4 separate regions of the Homo sapiens genome follow, and regions 1, 3 and 4 are each linked to region 2. Evidence: promoter capture Hi-C in 16 types of primary human blood cells and fetal thymus (Javierre and others, 2016). All regions are on one chromosome and are shown on one strand. The core of a region is centred on a gene start or on the middle of the fragment in contact, and the rest is flanking DNA. Distances in the headings are between cores, read along the strand shown. Region 1 overlaps PPP1R9B (protein phosphatase 1 regulatory subunit 9B). Region 2 holds the start of TMEM92-AS1 (TMEM92 antisense RNA 1). Region 3 holds the start of PDK2 (pyruvate dehydrogenase kinase 2). Region 4 overlaps ITGA3 (integrin subunit alpha 3).

What was found. Contacts are between HindIII fragments. The CHiCAGO score rates a contact against its expected background, and 5 or more counts as called.
Region 1: a contact is called between a fragment that was not itself captured here and the fragment with the promoter of TMEM92-AS1 in region 2, in 1 of 17 cell types (naive CD4 T cells). The highest score is 5.1, in naive CD4 T cells.
Region 3: a contact is called between the fragment with the promoter of PDK2 here and the fragment with the promoter of TMEM92-AS1 in region 2, in 1 of 17 cell types (naive B cells). The highest score is 6.1, in naive B cells.
Region 4: a contact is called between a fragment that was not itself captured here and the fragment with the promoter of TMEM92-AS1 in region 2, in 1 of 17 cell types (naive B cells). The highest score is 5.2, in naive B cells.

What each region holds. Positions count from the first base shown.
Region 1 is chr17:50,130,919-50,134,160 of GRCh38, reverse strand. PPP1R9B (protein phosphatase 1 regulatory subunit 9B) reads left to right here. Exons shown (of 10, transcript NM_032595.5): 10 at 1-424. Among named protein-coding and RNA genes, the nearest start is that of SAMD14, 2.4 kb to the right of the region's middle. RefSeq lists enhancers at 267-1,008, 1,059-1,128, 1,009-1,751. The HindIII fragment of the contact is 751 bases long and covers 1,287-2,037 here.
Region 2 is chr17:50,286,104-50,289,115 of GRCh38, reverse strand. TMEM92-AS1 (TMEM92 antisense RNA 1) reads left to right here and starts at 1,261. Exons shown (of 4, transcript NR_125805.1): 1 at 1,261-1,376. The HindIII fragment of the contact is 15,975 bases long and covers 1-3,012 here.
Region 3 is chr17:50,093,637-50,096,740 of GRCh38, reverse strand. It overlaps PDK2 (pyruvate dehydrogenase kinase 2), which reads right to left and starts at 1,390. Exons shown (of 11, transcript NM_002611.5): 1 at 1,188-1,390. The coding sequence starts at 1,305. LOC124904024 (a long non-coding RNA gene) reads right to left here. Exons shown (of 2, transcript XR_007065837.1): 2 at 2,088-2,399. RefSeq lists enhancers at 1-474, 475-990, 2,022-2,231 and a silencer at 1,522-1,641. The HindIII fragment of the contact is 3,439 bases long and covers 1-2,541 here.
Region 4 is chr17:50,074,555-50,077,731 of GRCh38, reverse strand. It overlaps ITGA3 (integrin subunit alpha 3), which reads right to left. Exons shown (of 26, transcript NM_002204.4): 11 at 2,206-2,273; 12 at 1,997-2,133; 13 at 1,257-1,406; 14 at 1,051-1,148; 15 at 611-758; 16 at 285-353. Among named protein-coding and RNA genes, the nearest start is that of PDK2, 19 kb to the left of the region's middle. The HindIII fragment of the contact is 5,559 bases long and covers 1-3,177 here.

The sequences.
Region 1 (3,242 bases), core at 413-2,912, 160 kb after region 2:
AGGTCCCCTCCCCTTTCAAAATCCATCTCATTTTGCCACTTCATGCCCCTGCCCTAACTGGGTTTTTGTTCATTTTTTAAAAACAGACCACCCATCCCATCCGTTTTGGCTTCTTGTCCCCTGTAAATAGACCATGACTTCGATCAGTATTTCTTGTCCCCACCCCTTCCTATCCCCAGATGTGCCCCCATCCCCTGAAGGAGCTGGCTGTCTCAGTCCTGGGCTCGCGCACTTCACCCCGGCAGATGGAGGGGGCGGAACCGGGTGGGCGGGGCCGCTTCGGGCTGCTTGGGCCAGCGGCCACCCCTGCCCAGCCGTCGGGAGGGCCGCATCTCTGTATATAATATATATATGTATGTATTGTTCCCGGTTTTGTACGGACCATGCCCTCTGTCAGGTCGTCCCCATAAAAGCAGCCCCCAGAGCCTTGCTGCCTGGTTTCTTGATTCACTGAGGTGGGGAGTGGGCAGGGATCAAGGATGCCAGGCTGCCCCAGTGGTCCCCTCCCACCAGTGCTGCCTCTAACCCTGAGGAACTTCCTACAGTGTCCCCCCGTTTCCGGTTCCAGCAAACTGCTTTTCTGCCCCCATTCCAGCCATCAGCACCCATGCTTTTTGTCCAGTCCTCCTGGGCAGGGCTGAGGGTTTCTAGAGAGTTTGTTTAGTCTGCATTCGTTTTTCAGGGCCTCTAAGAAGTTCAAAGGATGGGCTAAATACAGCAAGGTGAACCCCAAGTCCCTCCCCCAGAAGGCCTTTAAACTGTGGGGACACTCTCAAGAGGCACCCGGTGTGAGGCAGGTAAAGGATCAAAGGATTGCTGGGGGTGGGAGGTGACTGCCTGGCAGTTTAGTACCCAGGGTCCTAGAGGATCTGTTTGCCCTTTGGGGCGGGCCAAGTGGCCTGAAATAGCCCCAGCCCCTGTGCTGGGCCAGCAGGCCTGTGTGCTGACTCACCAGCTCAAATGCTAATGGGTCTGGGAGTCTAGGTGCCAGAGTTCCAGGGACAAGCTTTGGTGAAGTCCCAGAGGGGTGAGAGCCAGCAGGGAATGGGGCAGGAGCTTATGGCAGGCCCCAGGGCCAGCCTTTCCTTGCCGGGGTGCTGGTGTGCAGATGTCAGAGACCTGAAGCATGGAGGCACTTGCACTCAGTGGTGTGGCACTAGGGAATTCTCACCTTTGCCATAAGGAATGAAGTCCCAACTTCAGAGCCCTTCAAGGTCACCTTGGTGGGTCCTTAACAACATCCAGATGAGTGGCAGCACCCCCAGGGACAGTCTGCTCCAGAAGCTTCCCTTGTAGATGGCTGTGTCACACAGGTCACATTCATGCTAAGCCAAATTCTGGCTTCCCATAGCTATCCCTCAAAAACCCTAGGTCTACACCTCAGGCCAGTCCAATCCTGCCTCCCACCTGAGGGTTGCCTGGAAACCTGGGGATAGTGAATACTCTTCCCAAGGCATCTTTGCTATGTGGACGATTGTTGGAACACTCTGGGAGCCCTAAGGATGCTGAAGACGGATCAAGGTGTCTGATCCCCAAGATCAGAGACCACCAAACCACAGGGTCAGAGGTCATGGCTCCAGAGTTAGAAGTCACTGAACCCCAGGGCCACCAAGGCCCTGCTCAGGAAACCTAGCCAAGAAGTGAAGTGGCATGACCTTCCTGTAATCTGTAGTCTTAATCTGGGTGGGGAGGCAGGCATGAAGGTTTCGAGGGTTTCTGCTGGGCCGATGGGGGCTAAGCATCCAGGGCGGGGTCCCTCTGTCCCTCCCCCACTCCCCGTCTGTCCTGTGTGTTAGGTGAGGGGCCTATACATAGTATGTTTCAAACAGTGGGCCAAGTAACCCCTCACATTTAAGCCCAAGTGTGTTGTGTGCCTGGAGGTGTGTGTGGCTTTGCTGTGAGTTTCTCAAGCCTGAGCTGTGACTTGCCCATGATACACAGTATGTCCATGTTTGGGACTTTGTCAAGTAGCTGTAAGTGGGCCTGTCACCTTAAACCCTCCTTATCCCCCCACTCACTTGCCCAATTTTGGAAGCTTGAGTAGGTTTGCCAACACTTGCCAATAAGGCAACTTATTGCCAACCCTCAGAAGCTTAGGCCTCACTAGGAATAGGGGAACAGGGGCTCCTCCTGGGTCCTATGGCCTGGCAAACATACCCATCATCTCCCCACCCCCTTGGGATGTACAGGGTCTATATAATCAAGCCCCCCACTACAGCCCACCACTCAGATCTCACCAGATGCCTACAAAGCACAACCCCTTTAAGACAGCCAGATGCAGCCCCCACAGCTGTCAACAGAAACCCCACCCCTTCCCCAGATTTCCACAATCTAGCCTCATGGCTGCCAGAAGATTCTGAAGACACCCAGAGACCCCCAAACTCCTATAAATCCCCTAGGATACCCTCAGACCCTAAAGGCTGTTAATTCTGTCCTCACTCATAGTCACAAGATTGTCCTGGTTCAACAGGCCACTTCCCGGAGGCCTCGGACTGCAGAGTCCTGTGGGCCATCAGGGAACTCTGTCCTATAGACTCCACACCTCTCCTCTGACTCTAGACCCCTGATCCAGCTTCACCACTTGCCTTTTTTTTTTTTTTTTTTTTTTTTTTTTTTTTTTTTTTTTGAGATTTGAGTTTCACTCTGTTGGCCAGGCTGAAAGGCAGTGGCACAATCTCAGCTCACTCCAACCTCCACCTCCCAGGTTCAAGCAATTCTCATGCCTCAGCCTCCAGAGTAGCGCCACCATGCCTGACTAATTTTTGTATTTTTAGTAGAGACAAGGGTTTCACCATGTTGGCCAGGCTGGTCTCGAACTCCTGACCTCATGTAATCCACCCACCTTGGCCTCCCAAAGTGCTGGGATTACAGTCGTGAGCCACTGCGCCTGGCCTTTCACCACTTGCTCTTGAGCAAAGCACTTTCCTTCTTCTAAGTCTCTGTTTTCTCTGAGGCAGTGGGTAATGGAAACACCCACCTTGTGGGTTTATTGTGAGGGTGACAATAGATGATCTGAGAGCGCCTGGCACCTGCCAAGCTGTGACGTGCGGTAGCTGGTTGTGGATCCCTACATTGCCTCCCTGGCTGGCCTGCCACTACCATCAGCGCACTGGGTCCAAGTCTGATCTCATCCGTCCCCACCCCCACCTGCTCCAGGGCTTCCTGCCTCAAGCCAAGGTCCACAGCCATCCTAGACCCCTCCTCCCTCACCTCCTAGTCCAGCAGGTCCCCAAATCCTGTCA
Region 2 (3,012 bases), core at 12-2,511:
ATGGCATGTGTCTGTCATCCCAGCTACTGGGGAGGCTGAGGCTGAGGCAGGAGGTTCACTTGAGCCTGGGAGGTCGAGGCTGCAGTGAGCTGTGTTCACACCACTGCACTCCAGCCTGGGTGACAGAGAAAGACCTTGTCTGAAACAATGAAAACTAAGACAAAACAAAACAAAACAACACCCCCCAGCCCAAATGAGAGATGTGTTAGCTTTTTGGTTGCCAAGGAAGGGAGGAGTAGCTAGGCCATAGTAAGGCAGCTGGATTTCAGAAACAAACAGAAACAGGCATCGCAAGGTTAACAGGACTTTCTCTCTGTCTCCTGTCTTTACTTTCCTTTGAATGTTGGCTTCATTCCTTCTCACTCAACCAGGTTTTTTCACATAAGGGGCTAACATGGCCACCAGTGGCCCCATCTCCATCTCACACTTTTACTACCTGAGCAATCTAGGATCGGACAGATTCCCTGAGCTCCAAATAGAAAATTCTCAGGGAAGGGCTCTGATTGGCCCAGATTGGATCAGTGCCCACCCCTGAACCAGTCAACCGTAGCCAGAGAAGTAGGATCAAATGGCTGCCCCCAGTTCCACAGTCATTATGTGAATGAGGGTGGGGGTGGGGGCAGATGGAGACAATTCCAAGAGAAGCCAGATGGCTGGGCATGTGGCAAAAATGTGTGCAGTATAACCTGTTCTGAATCTAATTGTTGATGAAAGTTCTGCTATTGCTGTGTCAAAACACAAAATTGTCTTCTTGAGCCTCCAAAGTGATCGCAGCTCACTGCAGTCTCGACCTCCCAGGCTCAAGTGATCCTTCTGCCTCAGCCTCCCAAGTAGCTGGGGCTACAGGTGTGTGCCACCATGCCTAGCTAATTTTTCTATTTTTAGTACAGATGGGGTTTCACCATGTTGGCCAGGCCGGTCTCAAAATCCTGGCCTTAGGTAATCTGCCTGCCTCAACCTCCCAAAGCGCTGGGATTACAGGCATGAGCCACTGCACCCAGCCCATAAACAGTGCTTTTTATTGGGTACTAGAAGCATATGAATAGCAGAGCATAAACCTAAATTTGATCTAATGACCTTTGACAGTGTTAAAAGCTCTGGAACCTGGAGACAGGAAACCAGTTTTTCATACTTTTTATTTTGAAATTATTATAGATTCACAGGAAGTTGCAAAGATAGTACAAAGTGGTCCCAATTTTCTTTGCCAAATTTCTCTCAATTTTTTTTTCCAGACAGGTCCTTGCTCTGTTGCCCAGGCTGCTGTGCAGTGGCATGACCATAGTTCACTGCAACCTCAAACTCCTGAGCTTCAGCGATCCTCCCACCTCAGCCTCCCAAGTAGTCCCATAGTCCCAGCCCCTGAGCTGGGACTACAGGTATGTGCCACCATGCCTGGCTAATTTTTTATAGAGACGGGGTTTCACTATATTGCGCAGACTTGTCTTGAACTCCTGGGCTCAAGCAACCCTCCTGCTTCAGCCTCCGAAAGCACTGGGATTACAGGCAGGAGGCACCTGACCTCCAAGGGTTACAGGGTTACATCTCTTTTTTTTTTTTTTTTTTTTGAGATGGAGTTTCATTCTTGTCCCCGAGGCTAGAATGCAGTGGTGTGATCTCAGCTCACTGCAAACTCCGCCTCCTGGGTTTCAGCAATTCTCTTGCTTCACCCTCTGGAGTAGCTGGCACAGGTGCGTGCCACCACTCCTGGCTAATTTTTGTATGTTTAGTAGAGACGGGGTCTCACTATGTTGGCCAGGCTGGTCTCAAACTCCTGACCTCAGGTGATCTGCCCACCTCAGCCTCCGAAAGTGCTGGGATTACAGGGGTAAGCCACCGTGCCAGGCCCTCCAAGGGTTACATCTTATGTAAAGTATCAAAGCCAGGAAACTGACGTGGGTATAATGTGTGTGCCTAATTCTGTGTTGTTTTATCACATGCAAATTTGTGTAACTACTACCTCTTCAAGTAAAATGCAGAACTGCTCCCCCACCAAACAGATCTCTCTGGTGAGACCTCTGTGTAGCCATACCCACTCTCTCCCCATCAACAACTAATGTGTCTCCATCGCTATCATTTTGAGGAGGCTGAGTTTTAAATCAACTTCCGACCCTCTCAGCAGTGTGACCTTGGATAAGTCATTTGTCCTTTTCTGGATGTTGATCTTCTCAGCTAAAGTAAGACAAGGTTGGCTCACATCAACATTCCTCTTGAATTTCCACAGGCTGATATGATCTGAAAATGCTACGGAGATTATGAGAAAGAAAATGGGGTTTTATGGTGAAATAAACTAGGGAAATGATGCTTTCCATAAATACATAATGCTTCTTTACCGTGAATTCTCAGCCCTTTAATACACTAAGGTGAACTGTGAATCTTCTAGTGTGGGAGGTATACGCAGCATTTTCCAAATTTATCTGAACACAGAATGCTCCCCCCACCCTTAAAAAAATCCTCTAGAAAAAAAATCACTTGGAACTAGTTTTTCAGGGAATATGCTTAGAGATATGCTTTTTCAGGTGACCTCTGAGGTCCTCCTGCCTCAGGGATCCCACCCAGATTAAATGCCTAGAAATATATCCTCCCTCGTGGGTTAAATTATGTATCTTCAGCCAAAACCTACGAGTGTGACCTTATTTGAAATAAGGGTCTTTTCAAGTGTAATTAAGATAAGGATCTTGAGATGAGATCATTCTAGTTTAGGGTGAAGTCCAAATCCAACGAAGAGTGTTCTTATCAGAGACAGAAAAGGGGGACACGCATAGACACAGAAGAAAATGATAGGCTAGGCATGATGGCTTGCACCTGTAATCCCAGTGCTTCGGGAGGCTGAGGCAGGAGGATTGCTCAAGCCCAGGAGTTCCAGGCTGCAGTGAGCTATAATCACCCCACTGTACTCCAGCCTGGGTGACAGAGCGAGACCCTGTCTCTGAAAAAAGAAAGAAGGAAGGAAGGAAAGAAAAAGAAACAAAGAGAAAGAAAGACAAAGAAAGAAAAAAAGAAAGAAAGGAAGAA
Region 3 (3,104 bases), core at 141-2,640, 190 kb after region 2:
TTTTGAAGGTCTCAGTTTCCCCCATAGTACTACAAGTTGACCAAACTCTACTGTGAGCCCCTCACAGCTGTGATGTTTCTGTAATTAGGGTGCAGTTTGTGGGGACAGCTGCTGGGGGCTAGGGGTGGGCCCAGGAGGCTTTCCTACATGGGGGAGGCTCAAGACTCAGGCAGGGCAGGGGTGCAGGCAGACAAGTCCTGAGGAACAGGTGCCTTATGTCTCGGCTGCCACCTCTCTGTTCCCGTCCCATCATTGACGCAGCTGCAACCCAAGCTAGGCACTATCAACTCAACTCTTGAGAGACTGCCCCCCACCCCCAGTCCCCAGCTGGCACCATGGAAATACCACATAGACAGACAGGGCCCACACAATGCCCATTTCAGCTGCCACGTTGGCACAGCCTCCCTCCTGCCCCAGGGCCACCCCCAGGTTGCTGGTAGTGGGCGATCCTGACCTAGCAGCCCTGGGGCAGCCAAGGGAGGTATAGGCGGCTTGACTCCACATCACGGTGCCTGGGGCCCCTGCCCAGCTGGGGAGAGGCTGCCAGGCCGGAACAGATTTGATCTTCAAGTGTCCTTGCCCACTGGGGCAGCTAGGGTCCAGCTCCTTCTGTGGGTGGATGTCTACCAGTCAGGGCACTGTCTCCCAATGGCATCTTCTGAAAGAGCCCCCTTCCCCAACTGCCCCTGGCTTAATCTCACCCTCTGCCCAGGGGTGTCTGACCCTTCATGCCCAGTCCAGGTCTCTCTACAGATGGCTGCACCTCTAAACCCTGCCTCCTCACTCCCACCAGCAGACCCCCGGTTTCCTCTGGTGGGAGGAGGGGCCCCTACTCCTCCAGTCATGAGGACAACTCCCATTAACCCTTTCGCGTCTGGATACCACCCTACTCCCTTCCTGCAGTAACATCACAGCTTCACTGCCCCTTACTCTTCAAGACCCTTCATGAGGCCCACGAAGAAACCTCGGGACCGTCCTTGTAAATGCCCCCCATTCCCATCAGCAGCCCCGTCGAGAGGCCCCGGCCGGTTCCTGCTTCCCCATTAACTCTTTCCTGCCTGTACCTTTCCAAACAACCCTTCTCTGTCACTCGGGGCCTTTCTTCTCCTCCGTCCCCCTAGCCCCCGGCTGCCCCTCCCAGCGCCCCGCCGGCCTCCGCTGCCAGCCGCCTCCCGCCCACTCCGTACCGAAGTCCAGAAACTGCTTCATGGACAGCGGGGACGGGGAGAACTTGCTGAAGTGCTCTATGTACTTGGGCGCCCCTGCCAGGGACGCATTCTTCAGCAGCGCCCACACCCAGCGCATGGCTGCGGCGGCCGCGACTTTGGTTGTGGTCCCCGCGCGGGCAGCGCTCGCGCACCTTTCGGCCCAGCGACGCGGTTCGGCCGCCTCCTCCCTACCCTTGCCCTGGCGGGCATTCCAACGCCCAGCCAATCGGCTCGTCATGGCGCCTCGACGTCGCCAATGGCCACTCACAAACAACTCCGGGCGAACCAATAGCCTTCCGCCCCGGCACGTGGCTTCCCCCGGGCCCGCCCCCTTAACCCACGCTTTGCCGGGGCGGCCTGTTGTTTTGGGGAGGCCGCGCCGAGTTCCCACCTCCCCTGTGTTCACTCCTCCCTTTCCTCCGCGGGGCGAAGCCCGGGTTAACCCCTTCCTTCCCAGAGCCCCGCCAGCCCTTTCGCTTCCTCTTCCACGCCTGCCTTTCCCTTGCTACCCCCTCGCATCTCCTTCACCTGCAGGCTCCTTTTAACCCTTCCTTTCCAGAGTTGTCTAGGTAGCTTTCAACCAATCCCTTTTCTCCAACTCAAAGGTACCTGTTTCACCTGTCATGATCGTTACCTATCCTCCCTTAACGGGTCTTGGGGATTCCCAGTCCGGATGACAGTGACCCAGACTGCGAATATTTGCAAAATTCGGAACCAGGGTGCAAGCCTATACGAATCCGTCCTGTATATATGCAGCCCACCCGCTTCCACAAAGATCCAAGCGGCTCAGGAAAAGGCGGAGTTTGCTTTTCCAACTGAAAAACATCCAGAGTAAAAACCATCACTACTAGTGGCGGTGGAGGCAGCAGCTATCGTCCATGCCAGTTAACACTTTCATTTTATTATACAGCTCATCTGACCGAACATAAAGCCTTGGACATCTAGCGCGACCACCTGAGAAAGCCACCTCCTTCGCACCGGGCTTCCTTAGAGCAAGATCCCAGGAGGTGAAGTGTCTCTGGGAGGCCCGGAGCCCGTCCTTCATCAGCGGCCCAGCTTCTCTTGGAGAAAATGTGACGCGCCCTCTTGTGGCCGAATGTGGTATCTCCCATCGTGGGTTTAGGGCCCGACCCGCCACTTTGATGCTTTCTTTGCTCGGTGACATTAGCCTAATACGTGTTAGGCTTTATGCTGGGAACAGGGAACACAGACAGGATCAAGAAATGGCCTTTTTCCTCGATGATTTCATTTCTAAGTTTCAGAGATAGCTACATAAGTAAATAATTAGCTATAACTGAATGTGATTGTAATACAGACCTCACAGAGCAAAGCTTCACATATGGAAGGGCCTCTTAGCTGGATGAATAATAAGCTATATGCCAGGCACTGTTTACAGGCATTATCTCATTTAATTCTCTATTTTATTATTCTTAGCCTCATTTCATAGATAAGAAAACCGAGACTCAGGGATCATTCTCAACTGCAAATCTGACCTTATTACTTCCTTGCTCACAGCCTTTCAATGGGCTATTTTTTTTTTTTTTTTTTTTTTTTTTGAGATTGAGTCTCCCTCTGTCGTCCAAGCTGGAGTGCAGTGGCACAACCTTGGCTCACTGCAAACTTCTCCTCCCAGGTTCAAGCGATTCTCCTGTCTCAGCTTTCCAAGTAGCTGGGATAACAGGCATGTACTACCATGCCTGGCTAATTTTTGTAATTTTAGTAGAGACAGGGTTTCACCATGTTGGCCAGGCTGGTCTTGAATTCCTGACCTCAAGTGATCTGCCCGCCTCAACCTCCCAAAGTGCAGGGATTACAGGTATGAGGCACTGTGCTAGGCCATCAATGGCTCTCTTCTTCTTACTGGAGCCTTTCCAGTTGTCACAAGTCGATTGACTT
Region 4 (3,177 bases), core at 581-3,080, 210 kb after region 2:
AAGAAGCACAGTGTTGGGCTCAGGGGCTGGCACACAGTTGGTGCTTGGTCAAACTGGTTTCCTCCCCTCCACCTGCTCTAGCTTTGTGCACAGCTCCCTAGCAGCCCCATTTGTCTTAGTTTCTGGGCCTCTTCTCACCCTCTACTGAGTCTCTCCTCCCGCACTGTGGCTCTCCACTTCGAGGGAGCCCAGAAAGCAGGCAGGCAGAGGCTGGAAGGACAAGGAGCTCATCAGAGGTGCAGCCAGGGACCCAGGAGGACTGGGAGGATGTGGCCGGTGCTCACCCTCTGGTTCCGTTTGAAGGGGTTCCCCAGCTCGCAAAAGATGGTCTCATTAGCTTGGCAGGCCCCGGGCTGAGGAAAGAAGGCGAATAAGGTCAGGGTCGGGTCAAAGTAGGGCTTGTCCTCCCTCCTCTGTGGTGCAAGGTCAGAAGCCCTAGAGCTTGAGAGCCGGATTCTCCAAGCAGCAGAGACGCTAAGGCCCCCAAGAAGGCCCAGACCAGAGGAGGTGGGCACGTGGCAGACGACAACACCTGCACAGGACATGGATATGGGGATGCAAAGACGCGGGGAGCCCTGCTTGGGCTCTGAGCCGGCCGGCGGGCACTCACGGGGCGCACTGAGGACAGCAGCAGGGCGGGAGGCACCACCAGGGTGAGCAGCGCCTCGTGGGCGTCCTCCCCGGAGCGCTCCGAGGTCCGGGTGTTCGTCACGTTGATGCTCAGGAGCAATTTCCGGACGTCTCTGCTGTACTGGAGCCTGAGAGCAGGAGCCCAGGACTCAGCCAAGAGCCCCGCCCCCAGGGCACTCCCGGATCAACTAGGCCCCGCCCCTGGGGTCTCCTAGGTGAGAAAAGCCCATCTTGGGACAGCCAGGCCCCGTCCTCTAGTCGCACCTGGAGGAGAAAGCCCCGTTTCTGACCATCCCACCTGTTCCCGCTAAAGCCCTGTCCCTGGGCTCGCCTTGCCATGAGGCCCCGCCCCCACCCTGCCAGTTAATGAGGCCCCGTCCCACCCTTGGCCGATTAACGCGGCCGGCGGCCCACAGCCACCTGCTCAGCTTCTGCTGCTGCTCTGACACGAAGGCTGCCCGCATCTGCAAGTTGCTCTCACACTTGTTGTCAGGCCCGCACTCCTTCTGGAACTGGACCTGGGGGGTGGCCGGAGGTGTGAAGGCCGCACCACCCCCCCCAGTGCCCTCTCGCCCCACCGCCCTTCTGGCCCCTGGTCTTCCAGTCCAGGCGCCAGCCCCACTCACCTCAGTGTGGTTCTCCAGAGCCTGTGCCTGGTTGAGGATCGGGTAGGCGTCCAGGGACCGCAGCCCCAGCCGGGGGCGATCGGGCATCCGCAAAGGTAAAGAGTAGTTCATGGAGATGATGATGGGGCGGAGTTTGTCACGGAGGTTGTCCTGGGGAGAGAGGGTGAGCTGAGCCCGGCCCTGCACTGCTCCCTGCCCCAGCTGAATCCTCACACCACCCTGAACCCCAGAGAAGAGCTGGACCCGCCCCCCACCCTGAAAACCTGACAGTTAGGCTGAACTCCCTCCAGTCCGGTCGCCAAATTGCGACTTCCTACTATCCTGACCCTCCAAGAGGAGAGACAGGGCTTCTCCTCCTCAAAAGTCCCTTCACCTCCCCATCCACAGGGTCTCCAGGTTGAGCTCTCCCCTTCCACCCTGATGTCCCAGAGAGGGACTGACCTTGCTCCCTACTCAGGGACCCCTTTTCCCAGAGGTGGGCTGAGCCAAGAGCTCCCACACTCCTCACTTTCCTTGGAGGTAATAAGCCCTTTGGCCCCATCCCCACCCCAAGGGTCTCCATCACTCCTCATGTGTGGGTGCTGTACACTGTACTCCTACACACCAATAGCCTTCCAAACCGATGTCCCCAACCTCTGTCTCTGGGGAGACCCCCGTCCCTCACCCTTGATCTAGGGGGACACTGGCCACCTCCTCCAGGGACCTGGGAGCCCTCATCCTGACCCTTGCTCCTCCCTCACCATCAGGAGCAGCTCCAGCTTCTGGCAGCGCATCTCGGGCATGGAGAAGAAGCCGTGGAAGACAGCGGACTCACTGCCGGCAAAGCGGAGCCGGGGCGGCCGGCGGTCCCTGTCAGCCTCCAGAGTGTAGGCCAGGGCTACAGGTAGACAGGGTGGTCAGCAAGGGGACAGGGGAGCGTACCCCTTTTACGCTGCACCCCAGCACTCACTGATGTTTCGCCTGTAGTTGGGGTTCCCGGCACTCTGGTTGTAAGCAAAGCACAGCTCCACTTGCACACTGTTGGAGGGATGTACAGGAGGGCGGGTCACAGTGGGACACACACGTCCAGGCCCTAGCTCTCGCCTCTGTACTGGGCAAAAGGAAACCGAGGCCCTTCTGGAGAGAGGCAGGGACAAAACTGGGGAGTCCACAAAGCAGGTCTGTGGTGTCCCTGACCCCTTCCCTTCCACTCCCCTTAAAGCCAAAGAGAACAGGGTTAGAGGTCACTAATGGGGAAACTGAGGCCTAGGGCCCAGAAGGACTTGTCTGAAGTCCTCAGTCAGTTGGTGGCCCAGCCCAGTCTTGAACCTAGGTCGGCCAATCCCCAGTCCAGGTCTCCTTGCACCAACCACCCCATTTCCCTGCTCTGTCTGCCTTTGTCTTCTGATCCAAAATCCTCATTCACTTAAAGACCTTGGGGTCATCGCCATCATTACTGTCACTTTCTTAGCAACTAACATTTTTTGAGCACTTAGGGTATACACAGTGCTGTGCTAAGGACTTTCTGTATATTTTCTCATTTAATTATCACAACAACCCTGTGAATCAGTTATTATCAATTCTGTTCTACAAGCAAGAAATCTGAGCCTAAGAGGGATTAATAATTCACCTGAGGAGACTCTCCTCCATATCCATCCACTTAAATGCGTCCCCCTTTCCAGAGCCCATCCCCACCCCTGCACTGGCATAGCTGGGATTTGAACCAGGCCGTCCAGAGCTCCCACCTTGAACCACTATACTCTACTGCCCCCGACTTCATCCATTACCTCTTACAAGGAATTTTGCTTTTTAATGAGGTTGGGTAGAGAGGGCAAATGCTGGCCCCAAGAATCAAATTTCTAAAGGTGGGATGTCAGGAGGCCAGGGGAGGGGTTTGGGAGCTGCAGCCCCTCCTAGCCTCCCTATAAATAAATGAGGAGTA